2 separate regions of the Homo sapiens genome follow, and region 2 is linked to region 1. Evidence: promoter capture Hi-C in human tissues and cell types (Jung and others, 2019). All regions are on one chromosome and are shown on one strand. The core of a region is centred on a gene start or on the middle of the fragment in contact, and the rest is flanking DNA. Distances in the headings are between cores, read along the strand shown. Region 1 holds the start of ANKRD45 (ankyrin repeat domain 45). Region 2 overlaps LOC100506023 (a long non-coding RNA gene).

Evidence for each region. Contacts are between HindIII fragments. The study calls those that stand out against the background at their distance.
Region 2: a contact is called between a fragment that was not itself captured here and the fragment with the promoter of ANKRD45 in region 1, in 1 of the 25 tissues and cell types used here (heart right ventricle).

What each region holds. Positions count from the first base shown.
Region 1 is chr1:173,667,917-173,671,527 of GRCh38, forward strand. ANKRD45 (ankyrin repeat domain 45) reads right to left here and starts at 1,935. Exons shown (of 6, transcript NM_198493.3): 1 at 1,901-1,935. LOC105371619 (a long non-coding RNA gene) reads left to right here. Exons shown (of 3, transcript XR_922291.4): 2 at 3,318-3,418. RefSeq lists a cis regulatory region at 2,980-3,563. The HindIII fragment of the contact is 9,646 bases long and covers 1-3,611 here.
Region 2 is chr1:173,470,941-173,474,551 of GRCh38, forward strand. All of the region lies in intron 1 of LOC100506023 (a long non-coding RNA gene), which reads right to left. Among named protein-coding and RNA genes, the nearest start is that of PRDX6, 4.6 kb to the right of the region's middle. The HindIII fragment of the contact is 5,462 bases long and covers 1-3,611 here.

The DNA.
Region 1 (3,611 bases), core at 685-3,184:
GCCAGAAATTAAAGACATTTGCAGAAATGTAAAATAATGCCACTTTCTAACTAATTCTTTTGTTCTGGAAAATATTTTTATGAGAAATATATAATTATGTTACATGTGAATTTATTTTTTAAGGAATTAATAAACATTTTTTAAATCCTCAGTTTAATTTCTAATTCTTACAACATATGTAATACTATATTAAAAGACATAACTCACATAAAGGAAAGCTCTTCGGGATCATTTCTTAAGAGTAAAATGGAGTCCTGAGACAACAAAGTTTGAGAGCACTGCCTTAGGATATACATGAGACCTAGAAATAGGAAAGTCTTGCAGGATGCTTGCCCTACTCAATTGCTATAGCAGGGCAAGGAGGCTTTGCAGGGAGGGAGGGCTGTGGTGCAAACCACTCCAGTCAGGGCTGAAGGGAAGTCACAGCAGGAACTCAGCGCAATTGAGTGAGCCAGGGAGCTCAACCGAGTCCTGACAAAACCAGGAGATACCTGTTCACAAGGTATATAAGCCAAAGGTTAAAACCAAGAAAGCCATAGGGCAGGGAGCACTCGGTATACCAGGAACATCACCCCCCAGAGCCAAGGGAAGGCAAAGGGACCCTGACCCGTCCCCATAACTGATTCCGTGAGCCATCCACATAGCCAGGGCACCATCTCAAGGAAAGAATCCAAGAAGATACCTGATAACCTAAATATTTGTATATAAGAGAAATTAAACACTAGCCAAAGAAATCAATTCTAGATTGAGCTAAACTTTAAAACCAATCGGACATTTAGATTCTTTCCTAATAATCAATAAGTAAATGCTCATGAAAGGAACCAGATCAGTCATATACAAAAATAAATTACATTTTCTTTGCCCACAAAAGTAATAACATACATCAAAATTGTAACCTTGCTACATATAACTGAAGTTTCACAGAGAATATGAGCATTGGAGGGAAGAGGGAAGGCTGGAACTATGAAGGCAGAATGGCATTGCTTTAGTCTTGATTCTGTTACTAATTATGTGACTTTTCTGAAATGAGGATAGCACCTGGTCTGCCTTACTAAATAAGTGTAGAAAAATCTATAAACTTTTCTTTTTAACTATAGAATGTGATTGCTTTCGAGCCACCCACAATAGAAAATCACATAGGTCATAGCACCTACCCCATAGGCTCTCACATTTTGGTAGGGAAGACACAAGTAAATCAGCAATGACAGAGTGAGATCAGGGATTCAATGGAGGTAGGTAGAGTGCTTTGAAAGTAAAACCGTGGACATCTACATTCAATTCTGGGTGGCGGTCTCAGAAAGTTTTCCCAGAAGAGGTGAAACCTCGATAGTGAAGAGTAGGAGTCTTAAAAGGAGGAAAAAAGGACAATCCAGGTAACGGGAAGAGCATAAACAAAGGGCAAGGAGGCAGGCGACGCAGCCTGAAGTTGTGATAGAGGAGTAGATCCTAATGTGCCTTTTAAGCCAACTGATTTTTTTCTTCAAAAAAAAAAAAAAAGTAGTCGCTTAATCAAGTCCCAGCTCAAGGAGAAGGACCCCAAGGGCAACCCTGGGCACACAGAGTTAAACAAAGAGAAGGCCTGAGGAACAGGATACAGAAAGTGGCAGCGCCGCCAGGTGATCCAGGAGGTCCCGCGAGGGGGCAACGGACACTTCAGGGCACCAGAGTTTGCTCTTCGGCCTGAATTCCCTAGGGACCTTCTGCGATCCCTTGCGGCTGCCGGCGGGGTAGGAGACCGGTGCGCAAAGCTCTGGACAGAAGCAGTGTGAGGACGCTGAGATTGAAGCCCACTCCCCTCCAGCCCTGCCCGAGCAGCCTGGAGGGAAGATGTCCGTCTACCCCATCGCACTCCTCCCCAAGTGCCCACCCCGGCCCACAGCGCCAGGACCCCTAGACTCACCACACCCGGGCCCCGGCCTCCTCGGTTACCATAGCAACGGCGCAACACGCGAGGCAGCGCCTCCTCCTGCGCCGCGGTTCCGGCAGCGCGGGAAGGTTATTCTTGGTTGCAAAGGCGCAGGAAGCCAGAGTGGAAAACAGCCAGGAATTATCTATAATTTCAGTCTCTGGGTGGCGTGTCGGTTTTTTCTTTGTTTTGTAAATTTTCTGTAATAAGGTATTTGTTTTACAGTTTAAAAATAAGTTGTGCATATTGGTTGTTGGCCTGTCTTTGGCTTTTAAACGAAAGAATTTTCTGGAAATATGAGGTTGCATTCTAAAAACTACAAAAGATTGTATGAATAACCCCTTGCTTAATTTTCTAGTTATTGGATATCTTTCTCCCATGGTTTATGGTCATTGTCACCAGCAAGGAGTGTTTCAGGCGACCTCACAAGTGCCAACTACCTTAGGAGCAGAAGAAACTTGGAGACTATATCCCTCTTGATTCAGAAATTCAAGATGCAAAACACAACTTTAAAAGGGGGGAAGCGATGGAGGTGGAGGGACAAGGGGTTCGAAAGAAACCAGCAGGGAAGGGCCAGGCATACCTAGCAATTATATCAATGTTCACATGAATCACACAGTGAAAACAGGGAAGTTTTTGTGCTGAAGGCAGGTGTGAAGGAAAATATTCATTTCTTTACTGTTTCTACCAAGAGTCCACTAAGGAGTAAGTGAATGTTTTAGAGGGGCTCTGAACATCTGTGCTGAAGTTCGAATAGCCTAGTTCTGAAATGAATATTTGACCTAAGGCCCAAGCAAAATTTCACCATTGTTACAGTAGGTAGTCAGGCATGAGCAGAGCAGGCTCCCCTATCCCCCACCAGGAATGTCAGGCGACCATCAGGTGATAGGCAGTTGTTAACTGTCTCTCTAAAATAATAATTGGTTGCAGCCAATGCCAGGAAAAGGCACTCTCCGAATAGATAGAAAACATCTGAAACTGGTTATCAGCAGCTTCCCCATAAGAGCTCAGGAGTTAGGTGATGTGAGAAACACACTCACCTGTCCAAACCCAAAGAATGGACTTAGAGGCATGAAGAACAGCAAAAGAGACACTTTTTAATAACGGTCTTGCAAGATCGGGTGTCTGGTGAGCAGGAACACCCAGTGCAGTTTCAACAAGGAATTTATCACCTAGTGTGCAAGTCCCTACCCTGGTTCCTCATAGGCTGAGTACTATGGGGTTACAGTCTTCCCCAACGTTGCCTAAGTTTCATTATCCCCTTATAAGGTTACATCTTGTCTCCTTCCCCACTTTAAGTTTTGATTTCCCAATGACAAAACTTTCTTTCCTTTTATGGATTAGCCACCCCACCCCCTATTTTTTTTTCTCCCTCCCCTCTGACTTCTGTGAGTCTTATCACTCTTCCCAGATGTCTGTAGCATGCGGCTTGTCACATCTGCAAGGGAGCTGCCTGGATTTGCCGGGGCCTGTTTTCTGAAAAATGGACCACTTAAAAAGTACTTCTTACAGGTGAGTGGGCTCAAGGATACACATTAAGAGTCAAAATGGTGGAGTTTAACTGGTATATGACCTTCTTGGGTACATTCAATTGGTAAGAGAAGAATGCCTCAAGTGTCATGCATAGAACTGCAGTAAACACACTGCACGTGCTCCTCTCCCAAGTGCTAGCAGGCCACTGCACATGTGGATAGCCCATCCCAAG
Region 2 (3,611 bases), core at 677-3,176, 200 kb before region 1:
GAGGGTGCAAGCCCCAAGCCTTGGCAGCTTCCACATGGTGTTGAGCCTGTAGGCACACAAAAGTCAAGAATTGAGGTTTGAGCACCTCTGCCTAGATTTCAGAGGATGTATGGAAATGCCTGGATATCCAGGCAGAAGTTTGCTGCAGGGCCAGGGCTGTCATGGAGAACCTCTGCTAGGGTAGTGCAGAAAGGAAATGTGGGGTCAGATCCCCCACATAGAGTCCCTACTGGGGCACTGCCTAGTGGAGCTGTGAGAAGAGGGCCACCATCCTCCAGACCCCAGAGTGGTAGATCCACCAACAGCTTGTACCGTGTGCCTGGAAAAGCCACAGACACTCAACACCAGCCTGTGAAAGGAGCCAAGTGGGAAGCTGTACCATGCAGAGCCACAAGGGTGGAGCTGCCCAAGACCATGGGAACCCACCTCTTGCATCAGCATGACCCAGATGCAAGACATGGAGTCAAAGGAGATAATTTTGGAGCTTTAAGTTTGACTGCCCTGCTGGATTTTGGACTTGCATGGGGCCTATAACCCCTTTGTTTTGGCCAATTTCTCCCATTTGGAATGGCGGTATTTACCCAATGCCTGTAACCCCATTGTATCTAGGAAGTAACTTGCTTTTGACTTTACAGGCTCATAGGCAGAAGGGACTTGCCTTGTTTTGGATGAGAATTTAAACTGGGGACTTCTGAGTTAATGCTGAAATTAGTTAAGACTTTGGGGAACTGTTAGGAAGGCATGATTGGTTTGAAATGTGAGGACATGAGATTTGGGAGGGGCCAGGGGCAGAATGATATGGGTTGGCTGTATCCCCACCCAAATCTCATCTTGAATTGTAACTCCCACAATTCCACACGTGATGGAAGGAACCCAATGGGAGGTGACTGAATCATGGAAGCAGGTCTTTCCTGCACTGTTCTCATGATACTGAATGAGTCTCACGAGATCTGATGGTTTTAAAAATGAGAGTTTCCTGCACAAGCTCTCTTTTTGCCTGCCACCATCAACATAAGATGTGACTTGCTCCTCCTTGCCTTCTGCCATGATTGTGAGGCCTCCCCAGCCATGTGGAACTATAAGTCCATTAAACCTCTTTCCTGTATAAATCACCCAGTTTCAGGTATATCTTTACCAGCATCATGAAAACGAACTATTACGATGATAAAGAAAAGCAGTGGAGAGATTATCAGCCCCACTCACTGAAGGTTGACAGGACTGCCTTAATGATATGTACAGGTTACTGTGCCCAAGCTTTCTTTATTTCTGAAAAGACAATCAAATCTAACAAGAAAGTTTATAGAGTTGAAAAAAAACACAATCTCACCATCCTAACATTAATTTTAGTTTTATATGTCTCCTCCCATTGGTACAGGGATTTTTACCTAGCTCTAATTACAGTCATGCATCACTTAACGATGGGGATATGTTCTGAGAAATGTGTCATTAGGCAATTTTGTCATTGTGTGAACATTATGGAGTGCACTTACACAAACCTAGATGGTATAGTCTACTACATACCTAGGCTACATGGTATAGCTTATTGCTCCTACGCCTCAAACCTGCACAGCACATTACTATACTGAATACTGTAGGCAATTATAACACCATGGTAAATATGGCTCAAGCCTGTAATCCCAGCCCTTTGGGAGGCTAAGGTGGGAGGACTACTTAAGCCCAGGAATTTCAGACCAGCCTGGGCAACACAGGTTAGGAAGACCCCGTCTCTACCAAAAATAAAACAATTGCCCAGGTATGGTGGCATGTGCCTGTAGTCCCAGCTACTCAGGAGGCTGAAGTGAGAGGACTGCTTGAGCCCAGGAGCTTGAGGCTGCAGTGAGCTATGATCACACCACTGCACTCCAGCCTGGGTGACAGAGCAAGGCCCTGTCTTAAAAAAAAAAAATGAAAAAAAAAAGGATAAAAAATGGTACACCTATATAGGGCATTTACCATGAATATAGCTTGCAGGACTGGAAGTTGCCATGGGTGAGACAGTGAGTGAGTGGTGAATGAATGTACTGTAGACTTTATAAACACTGTACACTTAGGCTACACTAAATTCATGTGTAAAAATTTCTTTCTTCAATAACAAATTAACCTTACCTTACTATAACTTTTTTACTTTATAAACTTTAAAATTGTTTTAATGTTTTGACTCTTCTGTAATAACACTTAGCTTAAAACACAAACACATTGTATAGCTATACAAAATACTGTATTTTCTTTTTTATATTCTTATTCTATAAGCTTTTTTATAATTCTAAAAGGTTATTGTCTTTTGAAACTTTTTAAACTTAAAAACAAAGACATAAATGCACACATTAGCCTAGGGCTTCACAGGGTCAGGATCCTCAAGACATCACTATGCGAAAGGAATTTTTCAGCTCCATTATCATCTTATGAGACCACCGTAGTATATGTGGTCCAATGTTGTATCACATGACTGTATAACTAGAGACATCTTGCTCTTTTACTCCCAGCTGTGGACAAACAAGAAACTTTGCTGTTGTGGCTGCAGGAAGGCGACCCAATGTTTCTCTAATACTTTGTACAACGTAGTCCTCATGCCCACTATGTGTAACAGGTCACAAATATTCATTAATAAAATATAGTCAAACCTTTAGGAGTTCACAATCTAGTGAGAGAGACAGGCATCATGGTGCACTGTTGTTTTTCCAAATGCCCATTGCTAATCTGTTCATTTTATTCTTCTGTCAAAGCAGTAAAGACAGAAGAGAAGATGTGAGTCATCCCAGAGTCACAGCCCTCTGGAAATGCCTGAAATCCATTCTTTCCTGTCCCTCAGATTACTGTAAGGACTTCAAGGTTCTCTCCGACCCTTATAGCTGTATGAAAACACTTTTTCTGATAGGAGAGCCTCCACCCTCTCTCTAAGGAAAGTAAATCCTTTCTTAGTCAAGCTCTCCCTTTTCCACACTCCGGTCTTTCCCTGGAATGTCTCCTCTGTCCTTCCTCCCCTCCTCCTTTCCCATTATACATCTCACTAACCCTCAGGAAAATAGCTTTAAAATTTTCCCTCTGGAATGGGGCCCAGTCCACAGAGCACCTACCTTTGGTATAAGTCAGATGTTAAACTCAATTACCTACGAAGGCCAGGCAGAACAGCGTTCTTCTGACTTTGTTTGCATATTAAGTTCATGGAACATTCTCTACTTTCACAAAGAAACATGATCATTTTTTTCTTGAAATATACAGCCCTTAGTTAAGCTTTCATTTGCACAGTTTTGACAGATAAGAATGCAAGAACTATTTCTTTTTCCTCCCAATTCTACTCTAATGTTAGTAACTGGCAGAGGACCTTCTGAGTAACAGAGAACATTGCCCTCTAAAAGGCTACTCAGCAGCCACTGTTTGCCAGATGGAACATGGGCCTGGTGTTGCTGTGTTGCTAGATCTTCTGACCTTTCAGGAGACAAAAATCCAGATATTTTTATGAAAAATCATGTTTTCAAAATGCTGATGTGGACGAAAGAAAGAGAGATCAGACTGTTACTGTTGTCTATGCAGAAAGAAGAAGACATAAGAAACTCCATTTTGTTCTGAACTAAGAAAAATTCTTCTGCCTTTAGATGATGTTAATCTGTAAC